Regions from separate parts of the Homo sapiens genome. Here regions 1 and 3 are each linked to region 2. Evidence: promoter capture Hi-C in human tissues and cell types (Jung and others, 2019). All regions are on one chromosome and are shown on one strand. Each heading gives the region's core, a stretch centred on a gene start or on the middle of the fragment in contact. The rest is flanking DNA. Distances are from core to core; before and after follow the strand shown.

Region 1 (4,619 bases), core at 132-2,631, 490 kb after region 2:
GATACAGCCTGCCCAGAGCTCGTTTCCATTCTGTGGCAGCTCTCACCCTGCCTCTGAGGACTGCCTTCAAAGGTGCTGGGGTTCCTTAACTCCCCTATCCCATTATGCTGCAGAACATTTGGGTCACCCTGCCCTATCCCTTGGACCAACCCCCAATACCAGTTCCCAGAACAGAGCCGTCCCCACGGTTTCCCTTTCCCTTCTTTGTTGGCTCTTTCCTCCAGGGGCTTGGCAAGTTGGCTTTGCTTCCTGTGGCCATGTTTTGAGTAGTCTATGTTGAGTCTGATAAGTGCCCCCACTGAGCCTGGGGCTTTCCATGAGCCAAGGACTCTTTCCTCACCATTGTCCCTTTCATCCTTTCTTCTTATTTTTATTATTTTTTTTAAAAAAATTTATTTTTTTTGAGACAGAGTCTCGCTCTGTCGCCCAGGCTGGGGTGCAGTGGCACGATTTCAGCTCACTGCAACCTCCACCTCCTGGGCTCCTGCCTCAGCTTCCCAAGTAGCTGCGACTACAGGCATGTGCCACCATAGCCAGCTAATTTATGTATTTTTAGTAGAGATGAGGTTTCGCCGTGTTGGCCAGGCTGGTTTCAAACTCCTGACCTCAAATGATCCACCTGTCTTGGTCCCCTAAAGTGTTGAGATTACAGGCATGAGCCACCGCGCCGGGCCTCCTTTCATCCTTTCAACAAACATTGACTGAGCCTCCACTCTCTGCCAGATAAACATGACGGTATCTTTGCTCTGACAATGCTGTGTTGTTGGTAAGATGGACAAACAGATGATTGCATTAAAGCCTAATGAGAACTGGGCGAGGCAAGTCTAGGGGCTGTGGCGCTCACAGGAGAGGGGGCTAACGTGGGCTAGGGGTGGGGGTGTGAGGGTGAGGGAAAGCTTCATGGAGAAAGTGGCACTACGCTGAGACCTGAAGGGTAAGGGAGAATTGGGCACGAAGGTATATGTACTGAGGGGGCTGGGAGTGGGGAGCAAACCTGGCTTTTGTAGCCCTGTTTGTCAGGGTGGCTTGCAAGGCAAGTGGGTGGGCAGAGGCTAGATCATTTGAAGCTATGTAAGGAATTTAGACTTACCCTGGACAATGGGAGTCACAGAATGGCAATCGGGAGAGAGTCCAATGTGTGTTTTAGAAAGGTCATTCTGGCTGCTGTGTGGTGAGTATAGTGGGAGTAGAAGACTGAGGGAGGGCAGGCATGAGGAAGCCGGGGAGGAGGCTGTGGCAGTGATCCACTTAGAGCTGCTGGTAGGCTGACCTGACGGCGTGGCAGTGGGGAAGGAGAGGAGGAGGTAGAGAGGCTTTAGGAGTTAGAATTGATACCAGATCTTTGGGAAAGGCGAGTATACTGTTGTCTCCACTGAACAGATGGGGACACCAAGGTTCCAAGGGTTGAAATCATCTGCCCACAGTCTCATGGGCAGGAAGTGGACAAGTGGTCCCAGAAACTCAGGTCTGTCTTACTCCAGAGCTGGTGCCCTTCCTCCCACTGCCCTTGGCCTCTGAAGTGTGGAGGAATGGGAGATGATGAGGGCTTAGATCCGGCTGAGGAGCTAGGGCTTTATCCTGAGGGCAAAGAGCACCCCTGAGGCAGCTGCAGGCAGGGCAGTGGGGGACCAGATCTGTGTGTGAGATAATCTGACAGCTGTGTGGAGGCTGGATTTGTGGGAAGTGAGATGGGGTAGGCGACCAGCTAGGAGGCTGGCTGGATCCTCCAGATGGGACATGGAGGGGGCCTCAACTGGAGCTGCTGCAGGGGAGCTGGGTGGAGGGGAGCTGCTAGGTGTGAAGGACAGACTAGCTCTGGGGGCTGAAAGTGGGGAGGCAGGCAGGATGTGAGCAGGCGGATGGTGGTGCAGCAGTAAGAATAAGGGACTGGGGTGACAATTTGGAATGAGGTGCCATAGGACAGCCAGGTGGGGATGTGTATAATTAAAGACAGTTGGATGTCTTTGGGCTGAGGTAGTGATCAGGAAGTTCTAAGTTGAACACTGGGCCTGTGTCATGTGAGAAGGCAATTAAGCTTTTCAGAGAAAGGTAGAGGAAAAGGGATACCCACTAAGGAGTTCAGCTTTATAGAAAATGGTGACTGATAGATGTGAGGCATGGAACGGGCGCAGGATCTGCTGCTTCTGGGAAGGTGAGAGCAGGAGTCAGCAAAGCTGAGGGAGTGAAAGGACCTGGACAAAGAGGGCATGCTCAGTGGGGTCAGATGCCACAGACAAACCTAGTAACAGAAGGGCTGACCTTGGACTTGTTGACTTGTGCCTTGGTGACCTTGGGGAGACATTCCAATGGAACCGGAGCCAGATAGCAGGGGTTGAGGACTGAATAGGTGAGGGGCAGTGGATGCAGAGAGGGCAGGGGACCTTGCTTGTGAGGGAGAGGATAGTAGTTAGAGGAGAGATGGGATTGAGTGTGAGTTTTTGCAGTTCAGCAGAGGTGAAGTTGGAAGTGATCACAAGAACTTTTCTAGGAAGCTGAGGGAAAAAAAGGAAAAGACCCCAAAATAGAATATGCAAATATGTAGAGATGGGTGAGTTTTCTAACAGATCCGTTCTCCTGATATAACTCAAATTTGGCTGGGCTGGTATGGGCTGGGCTGGCACAGCTTGCTGGGCACATGGGCCCCAGATCTGCTCCTCGCCTCAGTCCCATCTGGCCTGGGCCCCAGACCAAGCTCACAGAGCCCTACCCTGAGGTGGCTTCTTGTTGCTGTTGCCACAGACTTTGGCCCTGGGTGTTTGTTGAGGATGTTGGGGAGTTTATTCAGGCCTCCCTCTTTCTGCTTACCCAGCCTCTCCAGCAGGTGGGGTCCCCTCTGGCCCTGGGCTGGGCTCAGGTCAGTTCAGCTGTGCCCCTAGTTCCTCTGGGCCTGGGCCTGTCTCGTTCTCATAGGCTCTGAGATCGCTGGGAATAGAATTCAACTTCTATGCTAGAAATGCTTTCGTGGCAACCCAGGCACTGGCCTACTCTATCTTGGCAAAACTAGCTAATATTAATAGTACATTACACAGCACAGTAGTGCTTATTTATCAAGCATCCTCTCTGTGCCAGGCATTGAGCTAGGCACTCACATGTGCCATCTTAGTTAATCCTCATAGCGACTCTGAAAACTAGATATTATTAGCCCCATGTACAGAGGAGTGCTTCCTGTATGCTGGGGAAGTGGCCTTTCTAGGGCTTGGGTGGGATTGTGTCAGCATGATTCCATCAGTGCACCCACCTGGGGCCTTGTGCCTGGCTGGCCGAAGGGTCTCCTAACCACTTACCTTTGGAGTGGCAGCTCAGGTCTTGGAGGGGACTTAGGCTTCTAAGTCAGATTGAGGTTTAGATTGCTTTTCCACATATGACCTAACTTCTTGGAGCGTCAGTTGTGCCTTGTTTGACGTTTTCCCTCAATTTCTATAAGTGGATATTGAGTATGTGTATCAGAGATGCCAGGCACTCAGAGCTGGGCCAGTGAATGTTCTAGATGGCATCAGGGCCCAGACAATGAAGTAACCCTAACAAGGACAGAAGCAAAGAAAGTCTAAGGTCCTGCAGTGGGGACCAGAAATTTTTTTTTTTTTTTTGAGACAGAGTTTCACTCTGTCACCCAGGCTGGAGTGCAGTGGTGCAATCTCGGCTCACGGCAACCTCTGCCTCCCGGGTTCACACCATTCTCCTGCCTCAGCCTCCTGAGTAGCTGGGACTACAGGTGCCCGCCACCACGCCCAGCTAATTTTTTGTATTTTCAGTAGAGATGGGGTTTCACCGTGTTAGCCAGGATGGTCTCGATCTCCTGACCTCGTGATCCGCCCACCTCGGCCTCCCAAAGTGCTGGGATTACAGGCATGAGCCACCGCGCCCGGCCAAGGGGGACCAGAAAATTAATTGCTCTTATGCAGAATCGAGTCTCATTTCTTCTCCTGGGCCCAGATTCAATAATCTTTCTCAAATGAGCATCCCAGAGAGCCACTACTGATGGTTGAGAATTGGCCCAGGGATAACCCTGGGCTGAGATCAAGAGGATTTAACAACGTGTTGTCTCAACCCATTAAGAGTGCCTTTAGAGGTGCTAGAATAAGGAGGAAGGAAGCTAGTCTTTCAGCCCTTTACTGCTCAGCCTCCACACTAGGTGTTGTGTTCTGATCTGAGGCCTGATCTTTGAAAGAGAGAGACACAATCTGGACTGTTTAGCACCTAGGAGGGGTCAGTAAAAGTTTGCTAAATGACGGACTGATCGTGTCTTAGAAATCAACCAGGATTAGAGAGCCTCTCAAGGAAAGCCCCATGAGGGATCTATTTGAAACTGGAGTTATTTACCCTGAATAAAGAGCCGATTTAGAAGGATGTGACCTCTGTGAAATCACTGAAGGGCCGTATTCCAGGAAGAGAGATTAGACATGTCCTTGTTGCCTCAGAGGGCAGATTTAGGACCACTGTTTGGGAGTCTTCCACTGGGGAAGAAAGCTCTGTGTCAGAGCTAAACAAGATGGGCAACGCTGGCTTGTGAGGGAGCTCATCATCACTGGAGGTATGTAAGCAGAACCTGCATGGCCACCATAAGGAGTCTTGTGAGTGGCTCTCAGGTAGGACTGAATCCCCTTTGACAGCTACTCCTA
Region 2 (4,961 bases), core at 413-2,912:
GCAGAAGGTCAGAGAGAAACTGCTTCATAGGCCTTCACTTTGTGGTATTGTTTTCTAAGCCCCAGCACTAGGTTGGTGGGAAACGGTGAGGGCAGGTGCTTTGAAAACATTTTAAAAATCCTTTTCCCCGCCAGGTTCCTACCCACTGAAGCCACACTGCTAGGGAGGAAAAAGAGAAGGGCAGATGCTGAGGCCCTGGAGAGTCGGCCTGAAGTGAGGAAGTGGCACATGAATGGCCACCTTTTCTTTCCTCAGTGTGCCCAGGGATAGAGAATGGGAGACAGCAAGACAGAATACAATGTCTCATTAACTCTGGGCAGCATCCAGATACTTCAGGCCTGGGAGAGGTGTCCTTGACTGCCCAGGGGCTCAAAGTTAGGATGTAGCTAGTGAGATAAGATGCAACAACTGTGGAACTTGATCAACCCTATTTCAGAGCCATCGTGGATTCAGGAGCCCTCCTGTAGGAGATGGGAAACATTCAGGTGAGAGTCCTCAGAACTGGGGATGTGGCGAAAAGATCCTTGACTGCCAGCAGCAACCTAATTTCTGAGCCTCTTTCCTAATCTGTGAAATGAAGTAGTTTAACTCATTTTTTATGCAAGCTGGTTTGTGATATAAGAATATGTACTAATAAAATCCCTTACGCATAGGCCTTTTTTTTTTTTGAGATGGAGTTTTGATCTTGTTGCCCAGGCTGGAGTGCAATGGTGCGATCTCAACTCACTGCAACCTCTGCCTCCTGGGTTCCAGCAATTCTCCTGCCTCAGCCTCCCAAATAGCTGGGATTACAGGCATGCGCCACCACACCTGGCTAATTTTGCATTTTTAGTAGAGACAGGGGTTTCTCCATGTTGGTCAGGCTGGTCTCGAACTCCCGACCTCAGGTGATCCGCCCGCCTTGGGCTCCCAAAGTGCTAGGATTACAGGCGTGAGCAACCGCGTCCAGCGGCATTCTTTCCCCCATTCGCTGTTTTATTTTATGCCACAATGAGAAGGCGGGGCTAAGCAAAGTAGGTTTTTGTTTTGTTTGGTTTTTTTGAGACGGAGTTTCGCTCTTGTTGCCCAGGCTGGAGTGCAATGGCACCATCTCGGCTCACCGCAACCTCCTCCTCCTGGGTTCAAGCGATTCTCCTGCCTCAGCCTCCCGAGTAGCTGGGATTGCGGGCATGCGTTGCGCCACCACGCCTGGCTAATTTTGTATTTTTAGTAGAGACGGGGGTTCCTCCATGTTGCCCAGGCTGGTCTTGAACTCCCGACCGCAGGTGATCCGCCCGCCTCGGCCTCCCAAAAGTGCTGGGATTACAGGCATGAGCCACAGCGCCCGGGCGCAAAGTACGTATTTTTTATTATAGTTTGTTGTTATTGCTGTCATTCCTATTTTGAGGTGATTAAGTGCCCTCCTGGGCCTGACTCGAACAAGATCACGGTCGGTTGCTCCTCCCTCGCCTCCATTCCTACTTACAGGATGGCAGCTGCACGTCACCTGACCAGAGACAAGGCGGGACGCGAGGCTAACAGTTTGTCCTCAGCGCGCCGCCGTAGCCCCCGCCGCCGCCGGCCGCGCGGTGGCTCCTCCCGCCCACGCGCCAGAGTCGCAGTGGGCGGGCCTACGTGCTCCGCCCGCTGTGAGCCTGTCCGGCCCCCGCCCGCTCCGGAGCAACCCGCGAGCTTACACCGGCTTCTCTCTGTCCTCAGCCCGCGCGCCGCCATCGCCGTCATGCTGGGCGCCGCTCTCCGCCGCTGCGCTGTGGCCGCAACCACCCGGGCCGACCCTCGAGGCCTCCTGCACTCCGCCCGGACCCCCGGCCCCGCCGTGGGTAAGGCCCCTGCTTGCCACTGCCCGCGCCCTCGTGTCCTTGCGGTGACCTGGGTCCCCGCTGCCACTCCGGGGCGGGCTCTCCCCGGCCTAGCCCTTGCCCTACCCTGGTTACTGAACCCGGTGACCGCGGGCCGCCCTGCCCGCCGCCTCGAGTAGTGGAGGACCTGAAAGCGCGCCCCCGGGGCCTCCCCCCGCGCAACTTCCTGGCTGTGCCACCGCGGACAGGTCAGATGTGGACCTGCTGTGGGCGCCGAGGAGGGGACGCAGCGCTCCCCTTCGGTTCCCGGGCCATGACCCTGCCCCAGCGCCGACCCTGCGGCCACCTGACCGAGAGTGGCCGCCGCCGGCCTGCAGCGCCTCGGCGAAGGTGACATTGAGCCTCCGGGCACGCCGCTTGGGGTCCGAGGACACAATATACTTCCGTATGGGACACACGATTATACTTTTCAATCAGGCATTTCTCGGTTAGCGATTAGTGTGTCACCTTCACAGCCTTTTCCATCATTTTTAGGGTCTGCTGTGCCACGTTCTAATTCTTCCACGTTTAAAATAGATGGAAGTGTGTGGTTGTTTCCTGATCTCCGGAAGATAGCCAGAGTTTTGATAGGGCTTATGATAAAAATATCACTCTTTTGAAAACTGAATGTCACAGACACAGGAATACTGGGTTTTACAAGCATAGGAACGCTTCGTGTTTTTTCCCCTTTGTAATAGAAGCCTGATTGCTGGAGTATGAGACGTGCTTCTGATTTTTGTCTATTTTCCTTCCCTTTATATGTGTGCTGGGAGGTTTTGAGTCCACCACCATAGAATAATTACAGTAATTGCACTTCGATCTTGGTCCGTGAAATTTAGCTTCTATGCATGCATATTATATTTTATTTTTGAACCTGCATCACTGGCAACTATGCATGCGTATTTAAACATAAGAACTCAGAAACTCGTTTCAGGGTATGCTGAAGTTAAAAATTAAAAAAAGAACTCAGCCGGGCGCGGTGGCTCATGCCTGTAATCCCAGCACTTTGGTAGGCCGAGGCGGGCGGATCACCTGAGGTCAGGAGTTCAAGACCAGCCTGGCCAACATGGTGAAACCCTGTCTGTACTAAAAATACAAAAAATTTAGCTGGGTGTGGTGGTGGGCGCCTGTAATCCCAGCTACTCGGGAGGCTGAAGCACAAGAATCGCTTGAACCTGAGAGGCGGAGGTTGCAGTGAGCCGAAATCGCGCCATTGCACTCCAGCCTGGCCGACAGAGCGAGACTCCGTCTCAAAAAAAAAAAAAAAAAAAAAAGAATATGTTTTGCTTCATTCATTTTAGACTTTTATCATTTGTCGTAGAACCATAAGGCTGGAGGGTACTTTATTTTTGTTTATTTATTTATTTTTAAATTAGAGACGGAGTGTCCCTATGTTGCCCAGGCTGGGCTTGAACTCCTGGGCTCAGGTGATCCTCCCACCTCAGCCTCCCAAAGTTTGGGATTATAGGCATGAGCCACTGCAGCCAACCTAGAGTGTACTTTAGAGATCGTGGAAGCCATTTTATTTTATAGAAAAGGAAACCAAAGTCCATCTTGGGAAACTGACTCCTTGTTTTTTTTTGTTTGTTTGTTTGTTTTTGTTTTGTTTTGTTTTGTTTTGTTTTTTCTTGAGACAGAGTTTCGTTCTTGTTGCCCAGGCTGGAGTGCAATAGCACGGTCTTGGCTCAAGCGATTCTCCTGCCTCAGCCTCCGGAGTAGCTGGGGTTACAGGCACCTGCCACCATGCCCGGCTACTTTTTGTGTTTTTAGTAGAGATGGGGTTTCACCATGTTGGCCATGCTGGTTTCGAGCTCGTGAGGTCAGGTGATCCGTCTGCCTCAGCCTCCCAAAGTGCTGGGATTACAGGCGTGAGACACCACACCTGGCCGAAACTGACTCCTTTTTAATGGTGGAACCATTTTTGTTTCTTATAGTTATGTTTGGGCCATCCTGATGTTTGTTTAGATTTTGTGTTTTGCTAAAGTAACAGTACAATTTACATTTTTCAGCCGGACACGGTGGCTCACGCCTGTAATCCCAGCACTTTGGGAGGTTGTGGCGGGTAGATTACCTGAGATCAGAAGTTCCAGACCAGCCTGAACATGGCGAAACCCAGTATCTACTAAAAATACAAAAATTAGCCGGGTGTGGTGGCACGCACACGTGGTCCCAGCTTCTTGGGAGGCTGAGGCATTAGAATTGCTTGAACCCGGGAGGCAGAGGTTTGCAGTGAGCCGAAATCATGCCATCTCAAAAAAAAAATTTTTTATTTATTTATTTATTTATTTTTTTTTTTTGGTGATAGTCTCACTGTGTTGCCTAGGCTGGAGTGCAGTGGCACCATCACAGCTCACTGCAGCCTTGACCTCCTGGGACTCAACTGATCCTCCTGCCTCCACCTTCCAAGTAGCTGGGACCACAAGGGTGCGCCACCAGTTTTATTTTCCGTAGAAACAGGCTGGTCTGGGGACTCCTGGGCTCAGGAGTGCCTCCCTCCTCCCACCTTCCAAAGTGCTGGGATTACAGGTGTGAGCCACCATGCCCAGCCAAATTTTTCTTTTTCTTCTTCTGTTGTTGTGGTTTTGTTTTGTTTTTGTTTTTGTTTTTGAGACAGGGTCTCGCTCTGTCATGCAGGCTGCAGTGCAGTTGGCACAGCTCACTGCAGCCTTAACCTCCTGGGCTCAAGCCATCCTTCCACCTCAGCCTCCCAAAGTGCTGGGATTACAAGCGAGAGCCACTGCACCCAGCCTCAGTAACTCGTTAATGTGCCCTCATTCCTACAGTTACCACCACCAAAGTGTTCATTCTTTGGGCCTGTCAGGGTTGATTATTTATTAAATGGAAAACTATCCGATTTAACTAAATTTAAACCCAAAGGATCAATGAGCCCTTTTATTTTTCTATATATGTTAGCCTTTTTTGTTTTTAAATGGAGTGCTTAACTGAATGCCAAAAAGCAGTGTTAGAAATAGCTTTTTAGGATGAAGCCCTAAAAATGTCCTCATTTTTCACAGCTGCTTCTTTTTTCTTACTTTGGGACTTTCAGGTTACGTAAAAGCTCTGAGTAATTGTTTTCCAAAATAATTTGCCTTTCAAGCTTCAATACTAGGTGGAGATCCTGTT
Region 3 (4,851 bases), core at 2,108-4,607, 400 kb before region 2:
TGGACTCTCCATGCACTTTGTGTGCTGCGTGCACCTTCTAGAATGAGCCCGGACCCTGGCTGGCCTCATACTTACTGCGTAGGCTGCAGACCCGCAAGTGCTTCTGCAAGGGGCTTTGCTTCTCCTCATAACAGCGGCACAGGCTGGCCGCGTGCTCTGGGGGTAGAATGGAGTAGCTCTGGAGGTAGCATGTCGGGGCCTGGCTTGGGCTCCTGGCCCAGACAGGGCAGGTACACCTCAGGGTCACAGGGCCTGTCCCCTTCTCTAGCAGCCCTTGGCCCACAGGCTGCCCAGCTGCCCACCCACAACCCGTACCTTTGGGCAGCCCCAGCTGCTGCAGTTCACTGGACAAGGATTCGCCATCGACACTGTGCTTGGCCGCACTGGAGAGGATGAAACTCAGCACTGCCACTGTGGCCTTCACATCGCCTGACTCTGAGGGACCCGTGGGTGGGGCAGGGGGTGTCACTGTGGGTCCAGCCACCTCCCTGTTGCCCTATTAACTTTAGCTCAAAGCCCCCAGGCCTCCTGGAGCCACAGGCACTGCTACTGCTCCACCAGGAGCTGGCAGAGGACAGGAAGGTGGGACTGTCGGTCTTTCTTTCCCTCATGCTCCTCCACTAGGGAAGGTAAGTTAAGGATGCTGCTGGGAGGGGTGGGGGGCCCCTCTGTACCAGGCACCAGGCCAAGTTCCCAGGGTTGCCTGGGGCCTATAGACTCAGCGGGATACTCACCAAACTTGGCGTCAGCCGTGAGCTTCAGGATCTTCTCATACTATGGGGAAAGGAGACCTTCAGGGGGTGCCAGGCCCCTGCTCACCAGCCCCTCACCCCCAGCCTGGATCCTGCGATAAGGAACAGACAGGCTGGAAAGAAGGAAGGGAGGTGCCCAGAGAGGTTGAGAGGCTGGCTCACCCGTCTCCCTGGGCCTAGTGCAGAGTTTCAGGGCAGTGGTGGTCATAAGGTCATGGGACAATGGGGTGCTGGATCTTGTACTCACATCAATCCCCTGTCCCAGCAGCTCCTTTAGTACCTGGCTGCAGAGCAGCCGCAACTTCACAGAGGACTGGAAGGGAAGTCCTTACATCAGCCAGGCTGGCAAACCTCACCCCTCCTTCCTGGGGACTGGCTCAGAGCAGGCCAGCCACTGATCAAGGTCACAAAGCATGGTAGCACAGGCTGAGAGCACTGAGGCCCTAGCCCCAGAGAAACCTCACCATCCTCTACACCCACAATCCCCACCCCCAACACCCCTCCTCCACCCAGACTAGACCCTGTGCACTCAACCATCTTGGCCAGCGTGCTGATTTCTGCCAGGACCCAGTCGGGACAGTCCAGATCACCACAGAACCGGAACCTCTGCAAGGGAGGGAGGCAGGTAATCAGGCTGGAGGGAGGCCTGAGGTGTGGCCAGGATCCGTGTGTCTCCCACACTGCTGCCCACCAGGGACCCCTGGTCCCCGACATAGATGGATACCCTCTGGCCTCTTGTTCTCCCCTATCACCAGGCTGTTGAGTAAACTCTCTCCCTGACCCACCCTGCCACCAAACCCTGCTCTGAGGTCTACTCCAGGCATTCATCTGCTCAGCAAACATCAATTAAGCACCTTCTCTGTGCTAGCTCCCACTCTAAGTGCTGGGGGTACAGCATGGGATAAAACAAAGTCCTGGGCCTCACAGAGACGAGTGAACTCTCTCCCCTCTTCCCCATACCCACACAACTCCAGCCACTCCAGCTTCCCTGCTGCTGCTGGGGCACACCAGCCTTGCTCCCGCCTCCATGCCTGCTGCACTCTCTGTGTGGCTTGCTATCCTTTTTTTTTTTTTTTTGAGACAGTTTCACTCTTGTTCCCCAGGCTGGAGTGCAATGGCGCGACCTCGGCTCACTGCAACCTCCGCTTCCCAGGTTCAAGTGATTCTCCTGCCTCAGCCTCCCAAGTAGCTGGGATTACAGGCATGTGCCACCACACTCGGCTAATTTTGTATTTTTAGTAGAGACAGAGTTTCACTATGTTAGCCAGGCTGGTCTTGAACTCCTGACCTCAAGTGATCCGTCCCCCTCAGCCTCCCAAAGTGCTGGGATTACAGGCGTGAGCCACGGCGCCTGGCCAGTGGCTTGCTATCCTTTAAGTGACACATCAGACCAGCCCTTCTTTTTTTAAAAAATAAAAAAATAAGACAGAGTCTCCCTCTGTTGCCCAGGCTGGAGTGCCATGGCCATGCTGGTCTCGAACTCCTGACCTCAGGTGATCCACCCTCTTCACTCTCCCAAAGTGCTAGGATTACAGGCATGAGCCACCGCACCCAGCCAGAACAGCCTTTCTTGATTATACTTCTTAAAATAGCCCCTCACACAAGGAAATTATGGAGGCCAGTGGATACGTTCATTATCTTGATTGTGGTGATCCAAGAGCCAGGAAGATTTGTTCTCTACTTGTCCAGCCTCATCTTTCCCTAACCTGCAGATGATACTCTCCCAGCTATGGGAAATGCATCCATTCCTGGGGAGCCATACTCTCTCTAACCTGAAGTCTCTGCACATGCTGTTCCCTGTCTGAAGACACACGTCTCCCACCCTTGCCTCCCTACCCCTGGTACACAAACTGTACTTCAGCCAGCCAGCTCCTGCCATCCATCCGCCTTTAAGTTTGATGGCATCCTTAGGAAGCCCCCTTAGCACTACACACAAGGCGCAGTTAGGTCTCTGCCCCTGGAGCCTTAGCTATGACTCCAATTCAAGCCTCCGATTTCCCCTTCCCTTGGCAGCTCAAGTCCTCCCAGTGCCTAGCACACTTCATGGTATAGACCAGGCGCTTAGAACGTACGGATGGATGGATTGGATGGATGGATGGATAAGTCTCAACCCCAAAACTACTACTTTCTGGCTCTGGAAAGAGCGGAGGGGCTTCCTAACAGTGTGGAAGAGTGAGCCTGATTCTAAGCACCTTCTTGTACAAGCCCCACGGCAGGGCTGGGGAAGGGGGTATCCTTGGGAGGTCCTCTTGGGGATGGGGAAGACCTGAAAGGACTCCCAGCTCCAGACAAGCCCTAGTTCCTGCCCCGGGAGGCAGGGGCCCTTCCTTCCGCCAGGGAAGCACCGGGACTCTAAGCCGGCCGGCCTGCTCTGTCTTACCCGCCCCGTACCCCCGCCCCCGTCTCGGGAGCGGGAGAGTGGTGGACTTTTCCCTACCAGACTCACAGCCCTCACGCCCGCACACACTGTGTTTGCGGAGAGGCCAGTACAACCTCCCCCAGTTTCCGGAGCCACTTGGCGCCCCCTCATTCCCGCTCCAGCAGCCCAAGCCTCGCTTCGCCCCTAGTGCCTCACCATCGCGCCAAGAAGCCAGGGCCCGGGAATTTCTTTTTCCGGTCCCGCAGGGTCAGCTGAGTCGACGATCACGTGACTTGGACTAACTGCCTCTGGGAGGGCGGGGCCTGCTCGAGTGAGGCCGGGAGCGGACCGCAGCCCGCTGGAGGTGCAGGGGGCGAAATGCTGGCGTCTCCTCCTCCGTCTCCCAGAATCCTTCCCTGGAAAAAACTGGCGCCAACCGCCAGTTTAACTGAGGACCGAATTAAGACATTAGGAAAGACAGTGGAAGTTATTTCATTTGTTTAACTTAAGGGGGTAGGATCCCGGGAGCCAGGGTGTTTCAGGTCATTGACACGTTTTCCACTGTTAAGCGAATAGCATTATTCACAGCTGCGGGCTGTGGCAAAAGACATTTTAAAAACTATTGACGTCTACTACACATACAGAAAATTGTACCTATTATAAAGCTTAATAAGTTTTCATCAACTGTACACCTCACATAACCAGCACCCAGGTAAGGAAATAAACCAGATAACTTCTTCAAGTGCATGGGTATTTTATTTCATTTTGATGAATCATCTAGGTGCCTAGCAAAAAGGGCTGTCATAATTACTTGCTCAGGAAAACTCCCTACAGCTTCAACATCAATAGATGCTTATCTTAATTTTTGCCAGTCTGATGGGGAAGAAAAATCGGTTGCTTAGGTTGCAGTGGTAGTCTGATTACTGGTAGCTCTGAGCTAATGGGTAGTCTAGAACAACTAAGTTTCCGACATTGACTTGAAGAGGCAAAAACAAAAAGACAAAACAACAAGAAAAATACATTTGAGAATAGACTAATAACCAGAGACAAAATTGAATACAGTCGTCCTTTGGTAACCTCAGGATGTTGGTTCCAGGACCCCAGAGATACCAAAATTCACAGATACTCAAGTCCCTGATATAATATGGCATAGTATTTGCAAATAACCTGTGCACATCCTTCCGTATACTTTAAATCATCTCTAGATTACTATAATACCTAATACAACGTAAATGCTTTGTAAATAGCTGTTATAAAGTTTTTTAATTTTTTTTTTTGAGACGGAGTCTTGCTCTGTTGCCCAGGCTGGAGTGCAGTGGCGCGATCTCCACTCGCTGCCAGCTCTGCCACCCGGGTTCACGCCATTCTCCTGCCTCAGCCTCCCGAGTAGCTGGGACTACAGGCGCCCGCCACTGCACCCGACCTGTGTTTTTTTATTGTTTTACTTTTTCCAAATATTTTCGATGCACAGTTGGTTAAATCCAAGGATCCAGAACCTCAGGATACAGAGGGCTGACTGTAGTTTGAGCTCTCTCCTCAATTCCATGCCTATCCCATGCAACAGGTGCAGCTGGTTTTATTGTTGCAGGCTTTCAGGTTTTTAAAAGACAGAGCCCATGACAATTAAACTGCACTATAAAATAGAAATGTAAAGTGTCCCCAATTCATGGTAAAATTGAGCTCATTTCTGAAGAGTTCTTTTACAAATCATAACCACTAGCCTGTTGAAAACAACAGTAC

Evidence for each region. Contacts are between HindIII fragments. The study calls those that stand out against the background at their distance.
Region 1: a contact is called between a fragment that was not itself captured here and the fragment with the promoter of COX5A in region 2, in 1 of the 25 tissues and cell types used here (spleen).
Region 3: the fragment with the promoter of COMMD4 here is called in contact with the fragment with the promoter of COX5A in region 2 in 3 of the 25 tissues and cell types used here (dorsolateral prefrontal cortex, hippocampus and lymphoblastoid cells).

What each region holds. Positions count from the first base shown.
Region 1 is chr15:74,439,873-74,444,491 of GRCh38, reverse strand. No RefSeq gene overlaps it. Among named protein-coding and RNA genes, the nearest start is that of SEMA7A, 8.2 kb to the right of the region's middle. RefSeq lists enhancers at 1,179-1,688, 2,201-2,710 and a silencer at 1,650-1,834. The HindIII fragment of the contact is 4,445 bases long and covers 1-3,603 here.
Region 2 is chr15:74,934,774-74,939,734 of GRCh38, reverse strand. COX5A (cytochrome c oxidase subunit 5A) reads left to right here and starts at 1,662. Exons shown (of 5, transcript NM_004255.4): 1 at 1,662-1,820. The coding sequence starts at 1,721. RefSeq lists a silencer at 1,409-1,968. The HindIII fragment of the contact is 14,403 bases long and covers 1-4,961 here.
Region 3 is chr15:75,334,569-75,339,419 of GRCh38, reverse strand. It overlaps COMMD4 (COMM domain containing 4), which reads right to left and starts at 3,357. Exons shown (of 8, transcript NM_017828.5): 1 at 3,328-3,357; 2 at 1,287-1,358; 3 at 1,000-1,065; 4 at 735-774; 5 at 316-435; 6 at 76-156. The coding sequence starts at 3,330. RefSeq lists enhancers at 2,964-3,133, 3,474-3,523. The HindIII fragment of the contact is 27,503 bases long and covers 1-4,851 here.